Linked DNA regions of Homo sapiens: regions 1, 2, 3 and 4 are each linked to region 5. Evidence: promoter capture Hi-C in 16 types of primary human blood cells and fetal thymus (Javierre and others, 2016). All regions are on one chromosome and are shown on one strand. The core of a region is centred on a gene start or on the middle of the fragment in contact, and the rest is flanking DNA. Distances in the headings are between cores, read along the strand shown. Region 1 has its middle 110 kb from the start of RHOU. Region 2 overlaps LOC105373143 (a long non-coding RNA gene). Region 3 has its middle 70 kb from the start of RHOU. Region 4 has its middle 140 kb from the start of RHOU. Region 5 holds the start of TMEM78 (transmembrane protein 78).

What was found. The method cuts DNA at HindIII sites, captures the fragments that hold promoters and counts their contacts. A CHiCAGO score of 5 or more calls a contact.
Region 1: a fragment that was not itself captured here is called in contact with the fragment with the promoter of TMEM78 in region 5 in 1 of 17 cell types (M1 macrophages); the score reaches 5.3 in M1 macrophages.
Region 2: a fragment that was not itself captured here is called in contact with the fragment with the promoter of TMEM78 in region 5 in 1 of 17 cell types (M2 macrophages); the score reaches 5.1 in M2 macrophages.
Region 3: a fragment that was not itself captured here is called in contact with the fragment with the promoter of TMEM78 in region 5 in 5 of 17 cell types (non-activated CD4 T cells, M1 macrophages, monocytes and 2 more); the score reaches 6.7 in non-activated CD4 T cells.
Region 4: a contact is called between a fragment that was not itself captured here and the fragment with the promoter of TMEM78 in region 5, in 1 of 17 cell types (M2 macrophages). The highest score is 5.2, in M2 macrophages.

The regions. Positions count from the first base shown.
Region 1 is chr1:228,849,007-228,851,706 of GRCh38, reverse strand. No RefSeq gene overlaps it. Among named protein-coding and RNA genes, the nearest start is that of RHOU, 110 kb to the right of the region's middle. RefSeq lists an enhancer at 1,987-2,700. The HindIII fragment of the contact is 1,051 bases long and covers 859-1,909 here.
Region 2 is chr1:228,955,508-228,958,207 of GRCh38, reverse strand. The region is part of intron 1 of LOC105373143 (a long non-coding RNA gene); the gene reads right to left. Among named protein-coding and RNA genes, the nearest start is that of LINC02815, 200 kb to the left of the region's middle. RefSeq lists an enhancer at 119-979. The HindIII fragment of the contact is 1,790 bases long and covers 528-2,317 here.
Region 3 is chr1:228,803,854-228,806,553 of GRCh38, reverse strand. No RefSeq gene overlaps it. Among named protein-coding and RNA genes, the nearest start is that of RHOU, 70 kb to the right of the region's middle. The HindIII fragment of the contact is 5,276 bases long and covers 1-2,700 here.
Region 4 is chr1:228,876,203-228,878,902 of GRCh38, reverse strand. No RefSeq gene overlaps it. Among named protein-coding and RNA genes, the nearest start is that of RHOU, 140 kb to the right of the region's middle. The HindIII fragment of the contact is 621 bases long and covers 1,037-1,657 here.
Region 5 is chr1:229,248,198-229,250,897 of GRCh38, reverse strand. It overlaps TMEM78 (transmembrane protein 78), which reads right to left and starts at 1,262. Exons shown (of 1, transcript NR_172940.1): 1 at 1-1,262. The region is part of intron 1 of LOC102723935 (a long non-coding RNA gene); the gene reads left to right. The HindIII fragment of the contact is 6,724 bases long and covers 1-2,700 here.

The DNA.
Region 1 (2,700 bases), core at 135-2,634, 400 kb after region 5:
GTAAGCCATGTCGAATGTTATCGCACACTTGAACCTAATGTTGGCTTCACACAGCGGAAGCCCTGGCATAGAAATTGTCTTTAAATCCTCTTTCAGATTAATTGCATCAAGAGTAGCATTCCTTGTGTAAGAGGATAGAAGGATCCTCCCAAAGGACTTAAAAACCTAACAAGAAATCTTTTAAATGAGTAGGAGGCTGTCAGAATTGTATATTTGATGTCACAGCACATTTTATGTTTCACATCCCAATCCTGCTGCCCAGGTTGAGGCATCCTTTGCTACAGATGGCGGGAACACAAGCAGAGGCCGCCAGCCTGGAGTCGCTCCATTACTCTACTGTAATTCTTCCCTGGGGTGCCGCACTGCAAGGCCACCCTGAGAAAATCTGACAGATCCATGTTATGGAACAGATCAATTCACATTTTCAATGCAAAGGGATTCCCAGGAGGATTCATTTAAATAGAAATTTCCTCTAGTGCCTTTAAACGGATTCTATTTACAAAATATCCATAAACAGCAAAATCTCAGGAACCCATTTTTGTAAGTGAAATGAGGCTGACTGCTACTCAGTGTGCATTTCAGAGTCCTTTAAAAGATCCAGTGATAACTGGAGAGGATGAAGTAGCCGGAGAGCTTTTAAAATGATTCCAAAGAAGGACAATTGATCTGCCAAGAAAGGCATTCTGGCTATGAAGCCTGTAGGAACAGGCGATCTGTAGGCTTCACTAAGGAGGTTAGGCTTTGGAATATCTGATTCCCACCTCTCCAGTCTCAATACCTGTCCCCAGTTCCTCATTCATGCAGCCCAGGCAGACAAGGCCTCCTTGGGTCTGGTTGCAACAACCGACTGTCCAAGCTTTCCTAAGCATAACTTCAGCCCAAGCCAGTTAATATGAAAACCAGAAAAAAAATGCTTTTCCCATGAAAGTGCAGTTTTATTAAAGTAAGAATGTAGGTATGACTAAGGGAGGAGACCACTCCTCATAGTGTCTTACGCCCAGTTTCTGGGCGTTTCTCCAAAGAAAGAAGAAGTAAAAGCTAAAAGGCAGAAATGAAATCCACAGACAGATAGCCTGGCACACACCCTGGTAGTTAAAAATCAACCTCTGACCTAACTACTTGTGTTATCTATAGATTCCAGGCATTGTATAGAAAAGCACTGTGAAAACCCCTGTCCTGTTCTGTTCCATTCTAATTACCGGTGCATGCAGCCCCCAGTCACGTACCCCCTGCTTGCTCAATTGATCACAGCCCTCTCATGCAGACCCTCTTAGAGTTGTAAGCCCTTGGACAGGAATTGCTCACTCGGGCAGCTCGGCTTTTGAGATGCAAGTCTGCCGAAGCTCCAGACCAAATAAAGCTCCTTCCTTCTTTAACCCAGTGTCTGAGGAGTTTTGTCTGCAGCTCGTCCTGCTACATGACTACAACTTATTATCTTTGCAGTGACTAAGAGTTGTCATGCATTCTAAAGTAAATGCACACCTCAAGAATCTAAACATAACAGAGGAAAAGAGAACTACTCTACTGCCATTCTCAGACACATACTCAGAATGAAGGGTTTGCCTTAAAAATGTAACTGAGAGAGATAGGGAGAGATTTGTTAAAAGATACAAAATTACAACTAGATGAGAGGAATAAGTTCTAGAGTTCTATGCCAATGTAGAGTGACTGTAGTTAACAGTAATATATTCTATAGTCTCGAATAGCTAGGATATTGAATGTTTCCAAAACAAAGAAGTAAATGTTTGAGATTATGGATATGCTAATTACCCTGATCTGATCACTATACATTATAGGTATGGAAACCTCACTATGTACTCCATGAATATATACAATCGCTATGCATCAATTAAAGTATTTAAAAATGTAACTGAGTTCATACAAACAGTGACTTGGTCATTTCCAAGCTTTGGCTGCCTGGTCTTTGTATTGCTGAGGAAAAAGTCTTGAAGAATTGCATGACTCCATAAAAAGCTGGTTTCTTATTCCTGGGAGAGCCCAGGAGGTACAATTTTGAAAAGCAGATGAGAAGGATGGGCTGATTTGTATAAGAGTGGAAAGTCCCAGCTCTGTATGCTGGGAGCAACCTTGCAAATTAGAAAAAAGATTCTCTTCTCCACATACGCTTTATCACCGTACGGACTGAAGCTGTCTTCTCAGCTTTTGCAGAAAGGCAGTCTGAAATCATGGGACACACACTGGCACTAGAATGGCTGAGCCCCAAGCTCCAGTGTGAGAGCAGGGTGAGTGATTTCACACCCACAGCAATTCCGAGCGCATGTCCCACCTGCTTGGCCTGTGGTGATGATTAAATGAGACAATGCTTTTTGCATGTTTAGCACAGAACCTGGGGACAATACACTCGGTCAGAGACTGCTGCTATTAATAGGTGGTGTTATTAATAGGAACTTGCCCCTGCTAATCTTCACCTGTTATCTGTTATTCTTTAATAGGACTGCAGCTTCAGTTCCTTTGCCTTTCACTTACTTTGAGTGGCCTGTTAATTGCCTTCCTGCTCACCTAATTGTTCAAACAAAAGAGCCCTTTGAACCTGCACCTTTGTAGCAGGAAAGAGAAGAGCTTATGCTCCAGGCAAGCTCTTCTCCTGGAGGGCCTTGCTGAGACCAGCCTTGAGCAAGATCACTGTGATTCCCACCTCAGGCCTCCACACCCCTGGAGTGGTGCTCATTAGCTGCAGTG
Region 2 (2,700 bases), core at 173-2,672, 290 kb after region 5:
CTTGTGGGATAATATGACATTCTGGGCAGTACATTTCTCGGGGATTATTGTATTTTTCAGGTCTTTGGCCTAATGCTTGAGAACATCAACTTAAGTCATGAATAATGGACCTGAAATGTATTCTCCGTGGGCACCCACTGCTTAGGAGCTTCAGAACTTGCCCCGGTCCTCGAATGCAGTATTTCTCAGTTCCCACCATCCAGTTGGACCTAAATAAAACCATCCCTTAACCTAGGAAGCACATGTACATTTTGTTTTGTAGGTGGGAGAAGAGCACACTACTGGAAAAATCTGAAATCATTTAGGCTGTCAGGACAAGGAACTAAGGAAACAGAACTCCAAACTTAATGAGCATTTTCTTGGCCACCACAGCAAAGAGCTAGCCGAGGATCGGGTAACTGTCACCTGTGCAGCGCTTAAGCAGATCTTCAGTTTCCAGAATGGGAAAGTCCCCAGAGAGTCCTGAGGCTGCCAACACCACTGCGAAGATTGGTTCCAACTGGGGCTTAGAGGATCAAACAAAAGCTTCTTTCCTCCCAGTGGCACTGATGCGTCGTGCCTTCTCTGAAATTCTCCTGTCAGCTTCCAGAGAGACTCCAAGTCATGGTGCAAGGGTGAGGATAGAAAACTAGTACAGGCCCCAGCTGGTAGCACCAAGGGAAGAGGTTGAACACTACTGTCTAGAGCATGGACTCAGCCCTGGCCATCGCATTCAAATTCTGTGATCTTTGAAAGTTACTTACACTTTTTGCACTTTAGTTGTCTCATTTGTAAAGTGGGGAAGACAATGCCTTTTTAAAAATTATGTTATCATGAAGAATAAATAACCTTATACATACGAAGTAGTCAGCAAACCCTGGCCCATAGCGTAACCGCCCAGTGGGTTCACTTTGCCCACTGCTTAGATAGAGCCGATTTATCAAGACAGGGGAAATGCAATAGAGAAAGAGTAATTCATGCAGAACTGGCTGTGTGGAAGACCAGAGTTTTATTATTACTCAAATCAGTCTTCCCGAGCATTCCGGAATCAGAATTTTTAAGGACATCTTGGTGGATGTGGGGAGGCCAGTGAGCCAGGAGTGCTGATTGGTCAGGTCAGAGATGAAATCATCGGGAGTCAAAGCTGTCTTCTTGCCCTGAGTCAGTTCCTGGGTTGGAGCCACAAGATCAGATGAGCCAGTTTATCGATCTGGGTGGTGCCAGCTAATCCATCAAGTGAAGCATCTGCAAAATATCTCTGCAAAACAGCTCAAGCACTGATTTTAGGAATAGTTTAAGGAGGGTCAGAATCTTCCGGTGGCATGACTCCTAAACCATAATTTCTAATCTTGTGGCTAATTTGTTAGTCCTACAAAGGGAATCTAGTCCCCAGGCAAGAGGAAGGTTGATTTTTGTGAAAGAGCTATTATCGTCTTTGTTTTAAACACTAAACTATAAACTAAGTTTCTCCCAAAGTTAGTTCAGCCTGCATCCAGGAACGAGCAAGGATAGCTTGGAGGTTAGAAGCAAGACGGAGTTGGTTAGGTCAGATCTCTTTCATTGCCTCAGTTACAATTTTGCAATGGCAGTTTCAATAGTAAGTGTCAGGCCTCTGAGCCCAAGCTAAGCCATCATATCCCCTGTGACCTGCCACGCGTACATCCAGATGGCCTGAAGCAACTGAAGATCCACAAAATAAGTGAAAATAGCCTTAACTGATGACATTCCACCATTGTGATTTGTTTCTGCCCCACTCTAACTGATCAATGTACTTTGTGATTTTCTCCACCCTTAAAAAGATTGTTTGTAATCTCCCCCACCCTTAAGAAGATTCTTTGTAATGCTCCCCACCCTTGAGAATGTACTTTGTGAGATCCACCCCCTGCCCACAAAACATTGCTCCTAACTCCACCGCCTATCCCCAAACCTACAAGAACTAATGATAATCCCACCATGCTTGCTGAGTCTCTTTTTGGACTCAGCCCGCCTGCACACAGGTGAAATAAACAGCCTTGTGTCTCACACAAAGCCTATTTGGTGGTCTCTTCATATGGACACATGAGACAGTAAGTGGCTTAGTAAATAATAGCTATTAGTAATACTGCAGCATCAAAACAAGAAACTGTAAAACATGTTAGAGTCACAGAAGCATTGGATCTTAGACTGGAATAAATCTTAATGGTCATCTAGTTCATCTCAGTCCAAAACTCCCTGGCCCTTTAGAAGAGTGTTGCTGCCCTTGCCCACTCAGCACTGCTCAGGCCTTTTTCTTTCTAATCTGCCAACTCCTCCACATGCCTGGGATAAAACCACAGGCTTGGACCATCCTACTCAAGCTTGAGGAGATAACCCTTTTGCAAGCAGAGAGTGTGACTCACATGGCTTTATGTACCCTGGCTTCTCCAGAATTATTACATGTGCAGTCTTTATCACATTGCAGGAGTTCAGACTATGACTCCCCTAAAATGTGCTTCTTTCGCATAAGGATTATTTGAGCTGATTATTTTCAGAAACTTTAGACACAGGAGAAACTGTAAAAATAGTGCAGCAGTTACCCTTTGGTAGAGACCTTACATGTATAAAGAAGATCTCCATTTGTAAGGGTGTCTCCCTGTCTGTACAAGGAAGAAAAGAATGACTCTAAGTTACTGAGTCTTACCAATGGAGAAGGCACTGACTTAAATTTACATAACAAACCTTACCCTTGTTTACTGAGTTTTT
Region 3 (2,700 bases), core at 7-2,506, 440 kb after region 5:
CCTGTTAGTGAAACATTAAGAATGAAATTATATGATGCCAGAGGCTTGCTTCGAAATAAACAGCAGAAGCTAATTGTAGTGGGTGAGTGCATGGAGACCACAAGAACCATGATTAAAACTGGATGATGTATATATGGGGCTTTATCTTACTAGCCTTTCTACTTTTGTATGTTTAAAATTTTCTGGCCAGGCGCAGTGGCTTAAGCCTGTAATCCCAGCACTTTGAGAGGCCGAGGCGGGCGGATCACCTGAGGTCAGGAATTCAAGACCAGCCTGACCTAGGTGGAGAAACCCCGTCTCTACTAAAAATACAAAATTAGCCAGGCGTGGTGGTGGGTGCCTGTAATCCCAGCCACTCAGGAGGCTGAGGCAGGAGAATCACTTGAACCCAGGAGGCAGAGGTTACAGTGAGCTGAGATTCCACCAGTGCACTCCATCCTGGGCAACAAGAGCAAAACTCCGTCTCAAAAAAAAAAAAAAAAAAAAAAAAAAAAGAACAAAAAACTTCTGTAATAAATATTTTTTTTCAAAAACACACACGTCAGGTTTCCTGATTTTTGTTTAGGCAACACTGCAAACTCCCCATAGATATTTGTTCCATGAATGAACGGATGCTCCCCTTTCTGGAAGTTCTTCTTGCCCTGCTGAGATTCCTTAGCCTCTAAGGCCTGGTGCAAACATCACCTCATCTGTGCAGCCCTATCCTAGGCTACTCTCTCCTCTTCACTGTCCCGTCACGTTATGATACCATTGCTATTGTATTTATCACATGGATTGTCATTATCAAGTCATCGGCTCGTCACTGATCATCACTGCATTGTCATCATTAAATTCATTAACTATTATCTGTCTGTCTCACCAAAACCTTCTGAATTCTGGGAGAATGAGCACCATTTCTCAGCCACTTTCTGCCGCATTTGCCTAGCACAGTGCCTGATATTACAGACAACTGTGAATAAATGCCTGACTTGAAACTGGCTTAAAAGCAAAACCTAGGGTTTAATTGGGACTTATAATCACTTGGTCCAGTCGGCAGACATGATATGTTTGTAGTAGCAGTGAAATTTAGAATTATAGTGCTGGACCTAGAAGCCTTGCTGATTTAGTTATAGACATTGAAATGATGCTAAAAGTCAATCATCCAAAGGAAAGGAAACAGCGAGTAAGAGAGTCAGTCAGCCAAGCAAATGTCAACTGAAAGAGGAGAGGGGGCTCTCTGAGTTCTGGGAATGGATAACGTCATGAAAAAGCACAAAGAGTAAAGACAGACAGAGCACAGGCTGAGTACATTATCTTTTTAATTGTTTCAGGGAACGCTTCATGCCAGAGTGTTCCAGTAAAATGCATAAACGCCTCTCGAGGGATATGGAGGCTTGACCTGGTCGTTTAGCATTTTAACAGCTCTCACTGTGCCTTCCAGGAAGCGGTGCCTCTGTCTCCGTCTGTGGGTTTGGGGCACTCAGATTTCATGACCATGAGCTCCTCAGAGCCTCCGTGCAGACACCAGCCTGCTGTGAGAGAGACTCAAACAGGTTCCTTCTCATATGACAGGTAGAGAAACTGAAACCCAGAAGTTCAGAGTTCCAGGAAATCTCCTGCAGCTGACCCCAAGTACCTGTGGTGAAGGCTCTTGGCTCACAGGGACAGGCAAAGGAAGACAAAGAAAGACTAGCCTGAGACCAGCATGCATGTTCGCAACTAAGCCCATCAGTCAGCTCCTTGCTCAGTGCTTTCTCCTTCCTACCAAAGAGCGGGAAAGCTCACCTCCACAGCAGGTCCAGCTCACCTCCACAGCAGGTCCAGCTCACCTGAGGTGGAGACAAGGGACCCAGGCAGGACTTGGGCACCCACAGTGGCTACTAGGGTGAAGAATGAGAGGGGTGAAGAAGAGGAAGAAAAGAGGGAGGAAGGGGGGTGTCTGCTAGCAATGTGACCTTGCATCTGGCCAGGTAGGACTGTGCTAGACCCTAAGGAGGAAGGAGAGAAGGCAGCCTGTGTAGCCCCAGCTGTGGGCAAAGCACAGGGTACCTCAACACCTTTCCACCCTCCACTGCTCTCCTTACCCCCAAATCTCAGTCGCCATGTTTCTAGACTCTGATTGAGGGTAGTTATCTTTACTTCAGCTTACTTTATGTTAAGATGAAATATTTGATATACACAATGGAATATTATTCAGCCATTAAAAAGAACAGAATCCTGTCATTTGCAGCAACATGAATGGAACTGAAGGTCATTATTTAAGTGAAATAAGCCAGGAACAGAAAGACAAATATCACATGTTTCTCTCTCTTATGTGAAATCTAAAAAAGTGAACTTCATGGAGATTAAGAGTAGAATGGTGGTTACCAGAAGCTGGGAAGGGAAGAAGGGAGGGGAGGATGAAGAGAACTTGGTTAACAGGTAAAAACACACAGTTAAATAGAGGGAATGAGTTCTAGTATTCAATAGTACAGTAGGGAAATTATAGTTTACCATGATTTATGGTATATTTCAAAATAGCTAAAAGAGAATTATAATGTTTCCAACACAAAGAAAAGATAAATGTTTGAAGTGATGGATATCTCAGTCACCCTGATTTCATCATTACACGTTGTATACATGTATCAAAATATCACATGCTTCCCCTCAAATATGTACAACTATGATAGGTTAATTTTTAAAAATATAAAAAATGTATATTAACTATTGGAGGAGGCCCTA
Region 4 (2,700 bases), core at 98-2,597, 370 kb after region 5:
GTCTTCTTTTGAAAAGTTCTGTTCATGTCCTTTGCCTACTTTTTCATGAGGTTATTTGTCTTTTTTTTTTTTTTTGTAAATTTGTTTGAGTTCTTTATAGGTTCTAGAAATTAGGCCTTTGCCAGATGAATGGTTTGCAAATATTTTCTCTTATTCTGTAAGTTGTCTGTTTACTCTGTTGATAATTTCTTTTGCTATTTTTTTATTCCTCTCAGACCTGCAGCTTGAATCCTAGATGGAGAGATACTAGTCATGAGTATAAGAAAATGACTAAGAATAAAAGATAATGGACTTAGGATGCGAAAAAAACAGTGTGGAAAATCGGAGCTAAAGGGACTGGGTGGATGTGATGTCACCATGCCTGGGAATAAGGGTCAGCTTCAGGAAGCAGGCAAATTGAACAGGGCCTTGAGAGGAGCATAAGACTGACCAACCACAGCTTCCAGGCCTCCTAAGAGCCCGTATTATTTGGTAGGTCTTCAGTTTTCCTCCAGCGGCAAAGGGACTAGAGACTGTATCACCTCTCAGGTGTGGTGCTGTGTGATGGACGCTTGGACGAGAAAGGGAAGGCAGGAGGCTTCTGAGACAGAGTCGACCATTTTTGGTGATTGATGAGAACCCAGAGAAGTCAAAGAAGTAAGAGTCCCAGGCCAGATTCCTTCCTTTCCTAAGTGCTACATTCATAAGAAATAAGGCCGGGTATGGTGGCTCACACCTGTAATCCCAGCACATTGGAAGGCCAAGACAGGTGGATCACGGGAGTCAGGAGTTCAAGACCAACCTGACCAACATGGCGAAACCCCGTCTCTACTAACAACACAAAAATTAGGCAGATGCCTGTAATCCCAGCTACTCGGGAGACTGAGGCAGGAGAATTGCTTGAACTCAGAAGGTGGAGGTTGCAGTGAGCTGAGATCCTGTCACTGCACTCCAGCCTGGGCAACAGAGCAAGACTCTGTCTCACAAAATAAAAATAAAAATAAATTCATAAGAAATAGAATTTCTCTTTTCTTCCATTTTCCTCATCATTTAAGCTTAGTGATGGATTCATTTTAAGGTGAAGCACAATGCTAGGATATTGGTTTTAAGAAAGTCACATCCCTGCTATGTCGTGATTCTAAACTGAAGGCCTACCAAATGACACCGTTTTCCTCATTCTTAGACCTCTTATAACTAACACAAACTCATGAAGTCATCAGAATTTGTGCAGGAAATTTTTGGCATAGGTAGCTGTAGCTGCATTTATCTATGGTTTATATGTTAATATTTTGGAACTAAAAGTAAACTTAGAGGGAACAGCTAATTCAACAATTCTTCCAATCAAAGCCAAAACCAAGGAAAGATCTCATAACTTGTTTGATTAGCAAATAAAAAAGAAAGCAGACCCCCCAACTGCTTATCAAACATTTTAGCAATTTATGTCTTTTTAGCAGAAAAACAAGGATTAAGAGAAAGTATAAGAATCAAGAGACAGACATTTGGTTGGGATAAACAAAAAGTCACTATGAGGTGATTATGACAATGGTGATGGTGATCATTCATTTATTCCCTTAAAACTATTTATTTTTATTAGACACCTACAGAGTGCAGTCACTGTTGCAGGCACCAGGGTAACAGTAATGAGGAAAGCACTCAAAGACTTGGTCCTCATGAAGCTTACTTTCTAGTAAGGAGGACAGATTTCAGAGTCACATACACACCTATGTGGGCATACACAGGAAGCATAAGTGTCAAGTGGTAGGTGCTAAGAAGTGCAGAGATACCGTCAAGTGTAATGAAGTTGAAGATGATGGTTTTGTTGATAATGACGGCAGTAAGTTTAAAGAGTTGAGTAAACTCCTAAGGCAGTACCACTTAGATGGACTACTGGCTCATGTGCAAAGACTGGCTGTTCTGGCTCTCATGGCCCACGGGTTCTGGGGGACTACACTTCTAACAGCTCCTCCTCTGCATCTGAACCATTCTGAAAGACACAGAAAAGGTGGAGGCTGATCCCAGTAGTCCTGCCAGGGACCTAGCCAGGGGCTCAAGGGCTTAAAGGAAGGGCCTTTCTCATGTTCTTGTTATGCGCCTGATGCCTCCGGGTCCTCCTTGCTGTAGGATGGCTCTGTGATGATCACACGATCTCCCAGTCCAGGGCAGACCACAACTAACTTATGCTAGCGTGCTGCAGACAAGGTTCCTGCAAAGTGTGGAGGTTCATTGAAAATGGCCTCAATGACTTCTAAGAAGTAAATGCTGTGATTCTACAACTGAAAGATAAACCACTGTGACCACTATAAAACAAGGCCCGGTATCTCTTACAGCCCTTCCACTAAGAGTGGGGGGGTCTACGTGTGACCCTCCTGAGTCCTAGCTCTCTGAGGCTCCTTAGTCACTTGAGTACGGCAGAAGGGGATGCTTCCTGAAGAAGCTGGTGGCTGCTGTTTCCTGTCTCCTGGAATCCAGCCATCATGTTGTGAAGTAGCCCAGCAGCCACAGGGAGGGGCCCCTATAATGGTTCTAGTTGATGGCCCAAGTGGGATCCCCCAGCAACAACCCAGTCATGTTGAACGGGTGAGCCCAGAGATGACTGCAGCCCCAGGACTAGTCACCCCTCAGCCTCTATCCATGGAGCAGAGACAAAGAAGCTGTCCTCGCTGAACTCTGCCCAAATTGGAGATCTGCAAGCAAACTGAATGTTGTGTTCTTAAGCCACTA
Region 5 (2,700 bases), core at 13-2,512:
AATCTCCTCTACTAGCAACCTCCAGTATATTCTGGTTACCCTGCTCCAAAAATGCTCTAAACATGCCATGCCTGTGTACTACTTCCCCATGGTTTATTCTCCCTCTCCATTTCTGGCCAACTCCTACTCATCCTTTAAAACTCAGCTTGAATGTCATCTCCTCTACAAAGCAGGTGGTTGTAGTCACCTCTATTAGTGTTCCCATCTTTTGTATATACTTCCTATGATTCTGATCACATTCTGCTTAATATCTTATCACATCCTGTCATGTATATGCTCATCTCCTCTAGCAGTCAGTTTTTTAAGGGCAGTAAACCTGGGTGCTTTTTTGTTTTTTGCAGTCCCAGTCCCAGCAGTGCTGAGCAACAGAAGAGATAAACACCACAGTTTTTAGGAAGTTCAGTTGCATAAGAGATGACAGTAGAGGCCCCTGCATGTCTATTGCAGACAATTACTTACGGGCTCACAAAAGAATATTCTCTGGTTTTGCCCAGTGGGATGCACTGTCCTACAAAGGCTGAAGATTTTGGGGAGGCAACAGACACACCAAACAGACTTCCTTTTCTATATCTTTCAGTTGCTGACACTATTAAGAAATAGAGACTGGGCATGGTGGCTCACACGTGTAATCCCAACACTTTGGGAGGCCGAGGTGGAGGATTGCTTATGACCAGGAGTTTGAGACCAGCTGGGCAACATAGTGAGACCCCATCTCTACCACATACACACACACACACACACACACACGCAAATTAGCTGGGCGTGGTGGCAAGCCCCTGTAGTCCCAGCTACTCAGGAGGCTGAGGTGGGAGGATCACTTGAGCCTGGGATGTTGAGGCTGCAGTGAATCATGATTGCACCATCGCATTCTAGCCTGGGAGACAGAGCAAGACCTTGTCTCAGGAAGGAAGGAAGGAAGGAAGGGGAGAGAGAGAGAGAAAGAAAGAAAGAAGGAAAGAAAGGAAGAAAGAGAGAAAGAGAGAGAGGAAGGAAGGAAAGAAAGAAAGAAAAGGAAGTAGAGAAAGAAAGGAAGGCAGGCAGGCAGGCAGGAAGGAGGAATTCCCTTCTGATTTGGTAGGAATTAGAAGATTCCTCTACTCTATCATTGTCATTGTAAAACATCTCTAGAGTAGTTGTTTGAGGCACACAAACTCCTTTCCAACATGATATTACAATACCCAGATTTCTGGTGTCAAGCCACATGTCAGTATGAACGGTCCTGCACAGATGACGTGTTCAACTTTCATGGTTGTCTCTACCTTCCATTCCAGCCTGCTCCGCCTCCTGGATTTTCCAGAAACCTCTGGCTTCTCCCTTCTTCCTCAGGGGTGTGTGGCTCTCTGGTGGGGAATTATCAACCAACATAGTGGGAGATGCTGAAGCCCGAGCGATGAGCAAAGTGAACACAGAGCACTGGGAAGCTGAGGTGCAGATGCACGAAGGGAAGAAGCTGGGAAGAAGCTGGAGGAAAGGAGTGAAGGAAATAGGATGATGGAGCCAAAACTGGGACTAGGGAGGCCAGACCTGGGAAAGAAGGTGGGAGCTGAAGTGGGGATCCTGAGGATGTTAACTGAAAAACCACGAGATCTATAAGCAACTCTTTAACCGAAAGGAGAGACTCTGCTGGTAGAAGTTTACCTGTTGGGGGTGACTCAGGCAGAGCTAAGCTAGCCCTGCAATGACTCCAAATGATCCTGCAAGGTGGGGGCAGACACAGGAGAGGAAAACAGCCCCATCCTGGCCTGCTGGTCAAAGCACACACGTGTGCTCTCTTCTCTCCCTCCCTCTCTGCTCTGTCTCTCTCTCTCCCTCCTTTTCTCTCTGTTTCTGTCTTTCTCTCTCTGTACCTTGGCAGCTAACCTGGCATTCTGAACTCCACCCCCAACCCTGTCGGTGCCTCTTTTGACCCTGAGTAGCTCTTTTCTCTCTTTCCCTACTTCCTACTTCTTACCACTGCCTGGAGAGGTTATTCTTAGCCACTTGCTGAACAGTTACTTGTTTCATTTAAACAAACAAAAAAGAAACAAAACCTGCCTAATGTGGCAGTAGACTTGAATTTAAAGAAAATGTATTTCAAACTGGGAAGAAGAGAAAAATTTTTTCTTAAATGCAACTTATTTTCATTGATTCTGAAAGCAATACATATTTATTGTAGAGAGAAATTGGATTGTACAGAGAAGCACAAAGAATAAAATTATAGTTATCCATTATTCCATGGTCAGAGATAACTGGAATTAACATAAGGATATTGCTTTGGCTTGAATGTTTGTGTCTTTTCCAAAATTCATGCTGAGGCCGGGCGCGGTGGCTCACCCCTGTAATCCCAGCACTTTGTGAGGCTGAGGCAGGTGGATTGCCTGAGCTCAGGAGTTCTAGACCAGCCTGGCCAACATGGTGAAACCCCAACTCTACTAAAAATACAAAAAATTAGCCAGGCGTGGCGGTGCATGCCTGTAATCCCAGCTACTCAGGAGGCTGAGGCACAAGAATCGTTTGAACCTGGGAGGCGGAGGTTGCAGTGAGCTGAGATTGCACCACTGCACTCCAGCCTGGGTGACAGAACGAGACTCTGTCACAAACAAACAAACAAAACCAAAATTCGAGTTGAAAGATAATCCCCAATGTAACAGTATTAAGAAAGAGGTGAGGTCTTTAGGAGGTGATTAGACCGTGAGGACTCTGCTCGCATGATTGGATTAA